2 separate regions of the Homo sapiens genome follow, and region 1 is linked to region 2. The links are contacts of gene promoters, found by promoter capture Hi-C in blood cells and fetal thymus (Javierre and others, 2016). All regions are on one chromosome and are shown on one strand. Each heading gives the region's core, a stretch centred on a gene start or on the middle of the fragment in contact. The rest is flanking DNA. Distances are from core to core; before and after follow the strand shown. Region 1 overlaps BRD8 (bromodomain containing 8). Region 2 holds the start of WNT8A (Wnt family member 8A).

What was found. The method cuts DNA at HindIII sites, captures the fragments that hold promoters and counts their contacts. A CHiCAGO score of 5 or more calls a contact.
Region 1: a contact is called between a fragment that was not itself captured here and the fragment with the promoter of WNT8A in region 2, in 6 of 17 cell types (M2 macrophages, total B cells, M0 macrophages and 3 more). The highest score is 7.2, in M2 macrophages.

What each region holds. Positions count from the first base shown.
Region 1 is chr5:138,147,582-138,152,306 of GRCh38, forward strand. It overlaps BRD8 (bromodomain containing 8), which reads right to left. Exons shown (of 27, transcript NM_139199.2): 22 at 3,164-3,427; 23 at 2,059-2,216. Among named protein-coding and RNA genes, the nearest start is that of NME5, 11 kb to the left of the region's middle. The HindIII fragment of the contact is 3,230 bases long and covers 707-3,936 here.
Region 2 is chr5:138,082,772-138,087,461 of GRCh38, forward strand. WNT8A (Wnt family member 8A) reads left to right here and starts at 1,262. Exons shown (of 5, transcript NM_001300939.2): 1 at 1,262-1,512; 2 at 1,727-1,865. The coding sequence starts at 1,357. The HindIII fragment of the contact is 12,012 bases long and covers 1-4,690 here.

The DNA.
Region 1 (4,725 bases), core at 1,072-3,571, 66 kb after region 2:
GAGAATCACTTGAGGCCAGGAGTCACAGATAAAAACAACTTTGTTTTTCTGCTTTAAAAAGTAATTCACTTCATGCCAGATGCAGTAGTTCATGCCTATAATCCCAGGACTTTGGGAGGCCAAGGCAGGGGATCGCTTGAGTCCAGGAGTTTGAGACCAGTCTGGTCAATGTGATGAAACCCTGTCTCTAACAAAAATACAAAAAAATCAGCTGGTTGTGGTGGTGCACATCTGTGTTCCCAGCTATTCATGAGGCTGAGGTGAGAGGATCACCTGAGCCCAGGAGGCGGAGGCTGAAGTGAGCCAAGATCATGCCATTGCACTCTAACTTGGGCAACAGAGTGAGATCCTATCTCAAAAAAAAAAATTAATATTTTTTTGGTTTCCTGTTAAAAAAAAACAGCCCCCATTAAGATTTGAAAATGTGTTATTTAGTCCTATAATTATCTATACAAAGATGAGACAATTGCATAAACCAGGGGTGTCCAATCTTTTGGCTTCCCTGGGCCACACTGGAGGAAGAAGAAGAATTGTCTTGGACCACACATAAAATACACTAACAATAGCTGATGAGCTGGAAAAAAAAAAAAAAAAAGAAAAAAAAAAGGGAAAAAAAAAGGGTCAGTGCATAAATCTCATAATGTTTTAAGAATTTGTGTTTGGCCACATTCAAAGCTGTCCTGGGCTGCAGGCTAGGGATTAGACAAGCTTGACATAAACAATCCCCTAAGAGATGTGAAAAAGAAACAAAGATCACAAACTTCAAAATAATTTTTTTCTTCTCTTTTATTTCTTGTTTTGTTTTCTGAGACAGGGTCTTGCTCTGTCACCCAGGCTGTGTAGTGACATGATCATAGCTCACTGTAACCTTCACCTCCCAAGTTCAAGCAGTCCTCCTGCCTTGGCCTCCTGTGTAGCTAGGACTACAGGTGCATGCCCCCACACCCAATAAATTTTGTTTATTTTTTGTAAAGATGAGGTTTCACTATATTGCCCAGGCTAGTCTCAAAATCCTGAGCTCAAGCAATCCTCCTGCCTCTGCCTCCCAAAGTGCTGAGATTACAGGTGTGAGCCACTGCGCCTGGCCTAATTTTTTCTTTAAAAAAAAATTTTTTTATCCTCTTCCTTGTCTCCATCAAAATAATTTTCCATTTCAAGTTCATAAAATCTATTTTAATATTTTTAAAAGAGGTATAGTTTGGGCCAGGCACAGTGGCTCAAGCCTGTAATCCCAACACTTTAGGAGGCTGAGGTAGGAGGATCACTTGAAACCAGGAGTTCAAGACAAGCCTGGGCAATATAGCAAGGCCAGCCCTGTCTACAAAAAATAAAAAATCAGCTGGGTGTGGTGGCCCATGGCTGTATTCCCAGCTACTTGGAAGCCTGAGGTGGGAGGATCCCTTGAGTTCAGGAAGTCAAGCTGCAGTGAGTCATGATCGTGCCCATTGCACTCCAGCCTGGGTGATGGAGCTAGACCCTGTCTCTATTAAAGAAAAAAAAAGCACCATAGTTTGTATATTAGGCATAGTTTGTATAATATTAGCTCCATCACCCAGGCTGGAGTGATACAGACTTGGCTAGAGTACAGTGGCACAATCATGGCTCACTGCAGCTTGACCTCCTGGGCTCAGGTGATCCTCCCACCTCAGCTTCCGGAGTACCTGAGACTATAGACAAGTGACACCATACCTGGCTAATTTTTTTTTAATTTTTATTTTGTAGAGGCATGGTCTCCCTATGTTGCCCAGGCTGGTCTCAAAGTCCTGGGATCAAGGGATCCTCCTGCCTTGGCCTCCCAAAGTGCTGGAATTACAGGTGTGAGCCACCACACCTAGCCTTGAAAGACAGTCCTAATATTGATTAAACATATTTGTTTTATAACAGGAGAGCATATAGACTTCTATTTATATGATGTTAAAATTATACTTAATTAATTATATTTTTTGTGTTTTCCAACTCTAATTTTCTTTAACTTATAAAAGTAATCCATTTCATGATTCAAATAGGCATAAACAGAAGTACGAATCTTAACAAACTTGGATGAAAGTCTACGCTTACAGCTTTGAGGAGGTAGCATGGCTGAAAAGTGTATCCACCAAGGGAGTCTCCTTAATGTTAAAGGCATCATCACACTCGCCTGAAGGGGGCTGGTCTTCCATCTCTGACACATATACTTCACCCTGGTCCTCCCCTTTGGATTCTTGCTGAGCCTCCCCCTAGGAATGCCAGGAAACAGGAAACTTTAGAAGGAGATTTACTTTCTGCATAGTAATTTTACTTGCATAGAGTAAATGAAGGCTGCCCTTAAGGTGAGAAGAGGTCAATTACATAAAGCTACAAAAGAAATTAAAGAAAGCTGACTTAACTAGATTTAAGTTAATGAGTTCTTGGTAACAATCTTGCTGGAGGACTTTGACTCTGTGCCACTCACCTCCAGCAAAATGGAAAAGCATTATTTGCCCAATTCTCATTGGATTCTTTAAAAACCATCATGATCACCTGTGGCCCTGGAGTTAACTACTCTAGCTGGCCAGATAATTTTTTTTTTTTTTTTGAGACAGGGTCTCACTCTGTTGCCCAGGCTGGAGTGCAGTAGCATCATCATGGCTCACTGCAGCCTTGCACTCCTGGGCTCCCCCGAGACCCCTAAGTAGCTGGAACTACAGGAACATGCCACCATACCTGGCTAATTTGTTTTTTGTTTTTTGTAGAGATGGTGTCTCCCTGTATTGCCCAGACTGGTCTTGAACTCCTGAGCTCAAGAGATCCTACTGCCTCTGCCTCCCAAAGCACTGGGATTACAGGCATGAGCCATTGCACCCCACCTGCCAGATAATATTAATAATGATGACGGTATTCTAAATTTTACTGATTGCTTACTATAAGCCAGGCACTGTGCTAAGTGCTTTACATGAATTATCTCATTTAAACCTCACAGCAATCCCACAAAATAGGGTGCTATTATTGCATTTCTGCAGAGAAAACTGAAGTTCTAAAATGTTCACTAACATGCTAAAGGTAACACAGCTAAAACTGGTGCTAAATCCAGGATTTGGATCCAGGTAGTTTAACTTTCTGGAGTTAGCCTATGTGCTCTAACTACTCTGTTCTGCTTCCCTAGGCAGAAGACCAACAAGACAGCTGATTTAAGTTACTTTCTTACCTCTTCACTCTCTGTGAGTAGTCCCTGAACTGTACAAATAACTGAGGGAGCTGAAGCCACCTCTGGCTTTCCATTTTCTCCCAGTGGCTTTTCAGCTACTAAGGGGTCTCCTTTAGCTGAAAGCTCTTCAGTCTCTCTGCAGAGCTCCCTTTCTCCTTCGCTAGCTTTAATTTCCCTTCCTTCTTGTCTGGTACCAGATGGAGGGCAGCAGCCTTCACTTGATTCGTTGCTGCTGATGCACAAGGGCTCCATTAAATAAGCTACCTGCAATCAAAGTTTATTATTAGATGCACAGGAACACCACTGAAAATCATCATCCACATATCAACAATGCCACATGCTAACACTGTCACAGTGACTAAGTCTGAGAGGACAAAATGGTTTAATTAATACAATCATCTAAAATCTGCCAAAATATCTTATATACACAGGCACTGGGCTGGTTGGTGGGGACACTACAGTGAACAAGAAAGATATGGTTCTTGCCTCTTCCAGGAGTTTATGTTCTACTTTTTCATCTCAGCTGTCAACTCTGATCAATTGGGAGTGGCTGTCTAGAATAAAGTGTTGAAAATTTTGTCTACCACAGACACTTGTAGAGAGAAGTGGCAACATTTGAAATGGATGCTTGCTGATCTTGATCTAGGGTCTTCTAAATGTGTTCAATAACAGCATACATATAACTCTCTGTCCAATTCTGTTTATTTCTGGTCCTCAGCCCTTAACCAAGGTAATGACACTTAAAAATACTACCTTAAAGTTACAGCATTTTAAGCTTCAAGGAAAATTTGGGCAAGTATAACTTCCCACAACTCCAAAAGCATGAATTACAAGGATACTCATAAAGCAGTCCTTATGACCCAGGCCCCTAATGACTGAAGTATTAGAAATTCAGTCAAAAAGCATGTATTTTTTTATTTTTAATTTTTTTACTTTTGAGACGGAGTCTCGCTCTGTTACCTAGGCTGGAGTCCAATGGCACGATCTCAGCTCACTGCAACTTCCGCCTCCCGGGTTCAAGCGATTCTCCTGCCTCAGCCTCCCAGGTAGCTGGGATTACAGGCACATGCCACCAAGCCCGGCTAATTTTTTAATTTTAATTTTAATTTTAATTAATTTATTTATTTAGAGACAGAGTTTCGCTCTGTCGCCCAGGCTGGAGTGCAATGGTGTGATCTCAGCTCACTGCAACCTCCGCCTCTCAGGTTCAAGTGATTCTCCTGCCTCAGCCTCCCGAGCAGCTGGGATTACAGGCGCCCGCCACCACGCCCGGCTAATTTTTTGTATTTTTAGTAGAGATGGGGTTTCACCATGTTGGCCAGGCTGGTCTTGAACTCCTGACCTCAAGTGATCCGCCCGCCTCGGCCTCCTAAAGTGCTGGGATTACAGGCATGAGCCACTGCGCCCGGCCATTTTTGTATTTTTAGTAGAGATGGGGTTTCACCATGTTGGCCAGGCTGGTCTCGAACTCCCAACCTCAAGTGATCCACTGGCCTCAGCCTCCCAAAGTGCTGGGATTACAGGCGTGAGCCACTGCACCCGGCCCAAAAAGCATGTATTTG
Region 2 (4,690 bases), core at 12-2,511:
GAGGCTGAGGCAGGAGAATTGCTCGATCCCAGGAAGTGGAGGTTGCAGTGAGCCGAGATCATGCCACTGCACTCCAGCCTGGCGACAGAGTGAGACTCCATCTCAAAATAAATAAATAAATAAATAAATAAATAAATAAATAAATAAATAAAATAAAATAAAAGACAGATTCCCACCTAAGGAGCTGAAGTCCTAGTAACAAAGTAGTATCAGAAAGAAAGGCATCAGGGCCACGCCCAGTGGCTCATGCCTATAATCCCAGCATTTTGGGAGGCCAAGGTGGGCAGATCACTTGAGCCCAGGAGTTCAAGACCAGGCTGGCCAACTGGCGAAACCCCTTCTCTACTAAAAATACAAAATTTAGCTGGGTGTGGTGGCTGGCACCTGTAGTCTCAGATACTTGGGAGGCTGAGGTAGGAGAATCACTTGAACCCAGGAGGCAGAGGTTGTAGTGAGCTGAGATTGCACCACTGCACTCCAGCCTGGGCGACAGAGCGAGAGACTCTGTCTCAAAAAAAAAAAAAAAAGAGAAAGGCATCAGTCTTCCCAAATATAACCCTGGGTGGCCCTAAGGTTGGTTCTCAGATATATAAAAAATCAACTAACTGGAGTTGTAACCCTCAGATATAAAAGGATAGATTTGCTAGGAATTAAGGAAATTTCCCAGCAGTTGCTAGAATGTGGTGGAAGGGACTGTTGCAGAGATGGACTCTGAAGTGTTCCTGCTCCATAGTCCCACAGCTCCATCACCTCACAGCCTTGAAGGAAGTGGTAGGGATGGCGCACTCACTGGTTTAGGTAAATGAGTAGGAAGCAGCCCCAGATGGAGTTGCTTTATGATTATTAACACCTTGGGGAGGATGGCAGGACAGAGAGTGGGCTCTCACTGACAGATGAGGACACTGTAGCTCCAAGAATAGGTGACCTGCCTTCAGGGTTAAGGACCCAGCCTGCTCTGGCCTACATGATTCTGAGAAATGGGCCAAAGAAGCAGGAAGAGACAAAATTGACATATAGAAGAAAGAAATCTCACGTATAGGAGAAAAGCAGCCTCCTTCTCATTCTGGGAGGGAAGAAGGGCTGGAGGGGCTGGGCAGGGCGGGGCTTTTGGCGAAAACTGAGTCCCTCCTCCCAGATCCCCCACTGGGCCGGTGGCTCCTGCAGCCCTGCCAGTTAGGAACAAATGAGAAGAGCTGCTGATTTCCTCCCTTGGACATTCAGAATTTTCTCACATAAATACTGAGGAAGACCCTGCCCTCTCCTCACTTCTCTGGACTTGGCCCTGAGCTGGACCTGGTCCACTGGGGTAGGCAGGGCGATGGGGAACCTGTTTATGCTCTGGGCAGCTCTGGGCATATGCTGTGCTGCATTCAGTGCCTCTGCCTGGTAAGTCCTTTCCCAACCCTCACTCCTTGCCAAGGAGGCCCCCATTGTCTCATCCCCATTCACCTCTGCCTCACTTTTTCTCTTTTTGGTAGGTCAGTGAACAATTTCCTGATAACAGGTCCCAAGGTAGGATGATCTCCAGCTTCTGTTTTTACCCACTGAGGGCCCTAAGGGGACTCTTCTGGAGAAAAGAGGGGCGGGGACAGTGCCAGAGCCCCTCACCCAGAGGAACCCATGGTTGATTCTTAATGGAGAGCTGGCCCATCTGAGTCCTGCCTGCTCCCCCAACCACAGATGACCCATACCGGGCAGAAGCTCACAGCCCTTTTCCCTTTGCCAGGCCTATCTGACCTACACGACTAGTGTGGCCTTGGGTGCCCAGAGTGGCATCGAGGAGTGCAAGTTCCAGTTTGCTTGGGAACGCTGGAACTGCCCTGAAAATGCTCTTCAGCTCTCCACCCACAACAGGCTGAGAAGTGGTAAGTTTGTGTGGGACTCACCTGTACAAGGGGTATATATGTGAATGGAGTGGGGCTTGCAGTATGTGTATATGTGTGACATGTATTGCACAGTGAAATAAAAATGCTGCCAGTGACCTGCTGACCTGCCATTTCCTTGCTGTGTGGCCTTGAGTAAATTACCTACCCTCTCTCAGCCCCAGATTTGTCATTTGGGTCAGTAAGGCCAGTTCTGTTTAGTTCATCAGAAGTATCCTATGGGTTGAATGAGGTGGGTATGAGGTGTCTCTATGTATGAGATAAATGTAGGAAATTACTCTTTTTTTTTTTTCTTTTTTTGAGACGGAGTCTCACTCTGTTGCCCAGGCTGGAGTGCAATGGCGCAATCTCGGCTTACCGCAACTTCCGCCTCCGGAGTTCAAGTGATTCTCCTGCCTCAGCCTCCCGAGTAGCTGGGATTACAGGCATGCAACATGCCTGGCTAATTTTTTGTATTTTTAGTAGAGATGGGGTTTCACCATGTTGGCCAGGCTGGTCTCAAACTCCTGACCTCAGGTGATCCACCCACCTCAGCCTCCAAAAGTGCTGGGATTACAGGCGTAAGCCACCGTGCCCAGCGGAAATTACTCTATTTTTTAAATGCATGCCTATATTTGTGCGTTTGTACACACTGATCTTGCACTGAGTTGCATGAAATAAAAATGGGGAAAGGGCTGTGTGTTTGCAGCTCCTGAGGAAGTTTCACATGGCTAACTGCCATAAAATCTCAACAGAAAAGCTGAGACGTCACATTGAGTTGTGCCTCAGGTGGGGTGTGTGTCTATGTGTGTGTATGGGTGTGCACGTGCACCCATTTGTAACTGTGTGCCGTAGTTTGCATGTCATTTTTGAAGATAACATTCACCTGAGAATAGTTAGGGGAACGAGAGTAAAGAAGACGGAGAAAGTGGCTAAGCACGTGTTGGAACCATGCCTATAATCCCAGCACTTTGGAAGGCTAAGGCAGGAGGATCGCTTGAGTTCAGGAGTTCGAGACCAGCCTGGGCAACATAGCAAGACCTCGTCTCTACTAAAAATAAAAGTAAAAATATTAGCCGGCATGGTAGCATGTGCCTGTAGTCCCAGAGACCTGGAAGGCTGAGTTGGGAGGATTTCTGGAACCCAGGAGTTCAAGGATATAGTGAGCTATGATCACACCACTACACTCCTGCCTGGGTGACAGAGCAAGACCTTGTCTCAAAAAAAAAAAAAAAAAAAAAAGATGAGGTTCAAAAGAAATGTCTCCCCATGGGGTATACAGATAGAATAGGGAGTATGTAGAAATAAAATGTGACAATGTTTGTAAAGAGTTTAGTAAGATAAGAGTTCAGTAGGTGGCAGTCAGGATGATTATGATTATTACATGGCCCAAACTTCCCAGTCAGAAGCAGCAAAGGTCCTCCTCTCTCTCCTAGGCCAGCATCAAGCCCTGAGTCTCACTGCCTAAAGACTAGCAGCAGTGGCTAGTGGACAGAGGTCTAGGCTGGACTCTAAGAGGGCAAGGTCCCGATCCCAACACCACAATTGGAAAGTGGTCTTGTTCTCATCATTCTTTATTTCTTTCTTTCTTTATTTATTTTTGAGACAGGGTTTCACTTTTTTACCCAAGCTAGTTTGCAGTGGCGCGATCTTGGCTCAATGCAGCCTCTGCCTCCCAGGCTCAGGCAATTCTCCCACTTCAGCCTCCTGAGTAGCTGGGACTATAGGCATGCACCCCCATGCCCGGCTAATTTTTGTATTTTTTGTAGAGACAGGGTTTCGTCATGTTGCCCAGGCTGGTCTCGAACTCCTGAGCTCAAGCAATCCACCCAACTTAACCTCCCAAAGTGCTGGGATTACATTGGCCTCATCATTCTATCTCTGGTTTTTACTTTCCCCATTGGTTAACATAGGGATGTTCATTCCTGCCTGGATGAAGGAAGGAGGCTGAAAAAATATGCATTGTTCTTTCAAATAGAAGAGCATTGGCTGGATGCAGTGGCTCACACCTGTAATCCCAGCACTTTGGGAGGCTGAGACGGGAGGATTGCTTGCGCCCAGGAGTTCAAGTCCAGCCTGGGCAACATAGTGAGACCCTATTTCTAATACAATAATAATAGGCCAGGTGCGGTGGCTCATGCCTGTAATCCCAGCACTTTGGGAGGCCAAGGTGAGTGGATCACTTGAGCCCAGGAGTTCTAGACCACTCTGGCCAACATGGTGAAACCCCATATGTACTAAAGACCAAAAAAAAAAAAAAAAAATAGCCGGGTGTGGTAGCATGCACCTATAGTCCCAGCTACTCAGGAGGCTGAGGCACGAGAATTGCTTGAACCTGGAAGGCGGAGGTTACAGTGAGCCAAGATCGCGCTACTGCACTCCAGCCTGGACAACAGAGTAAGAGCCTATCTCAAAAAATAAAATAATAATTAAAAAAAAATAGGCCAGGCACAGTGGCTCACGCCTGTAATCCCAGCACTTTGGGAGGCCAGGCAGGTGGGTCACCTGAGATCAGGAGTTCAAGACCAGCCTGGCCAACATGGTGAAACCCCATCTCTACTAAAAATACAAAAATTAGCTGGGGGTGGTGGCATGTACCTGCTACTCAGGAGGCTGAGGCAGGAGAATCGCTTGAACCTGGGAGGCGGAGGTTGCAGAGAGCCGAGATCATGCCACTGCACCCCAGCCTGGGCAACAGAGTGAGACTCTGTCTCAAAACAAAAACAAAAACAAAAAAATGACCAGCCACAGTGGTTCACGCCTGTAATCCCAGCACTTTGGGAGGCCAAGGAGGGCAGATCATGTGGTCAAGAGATCGAGACCATCCT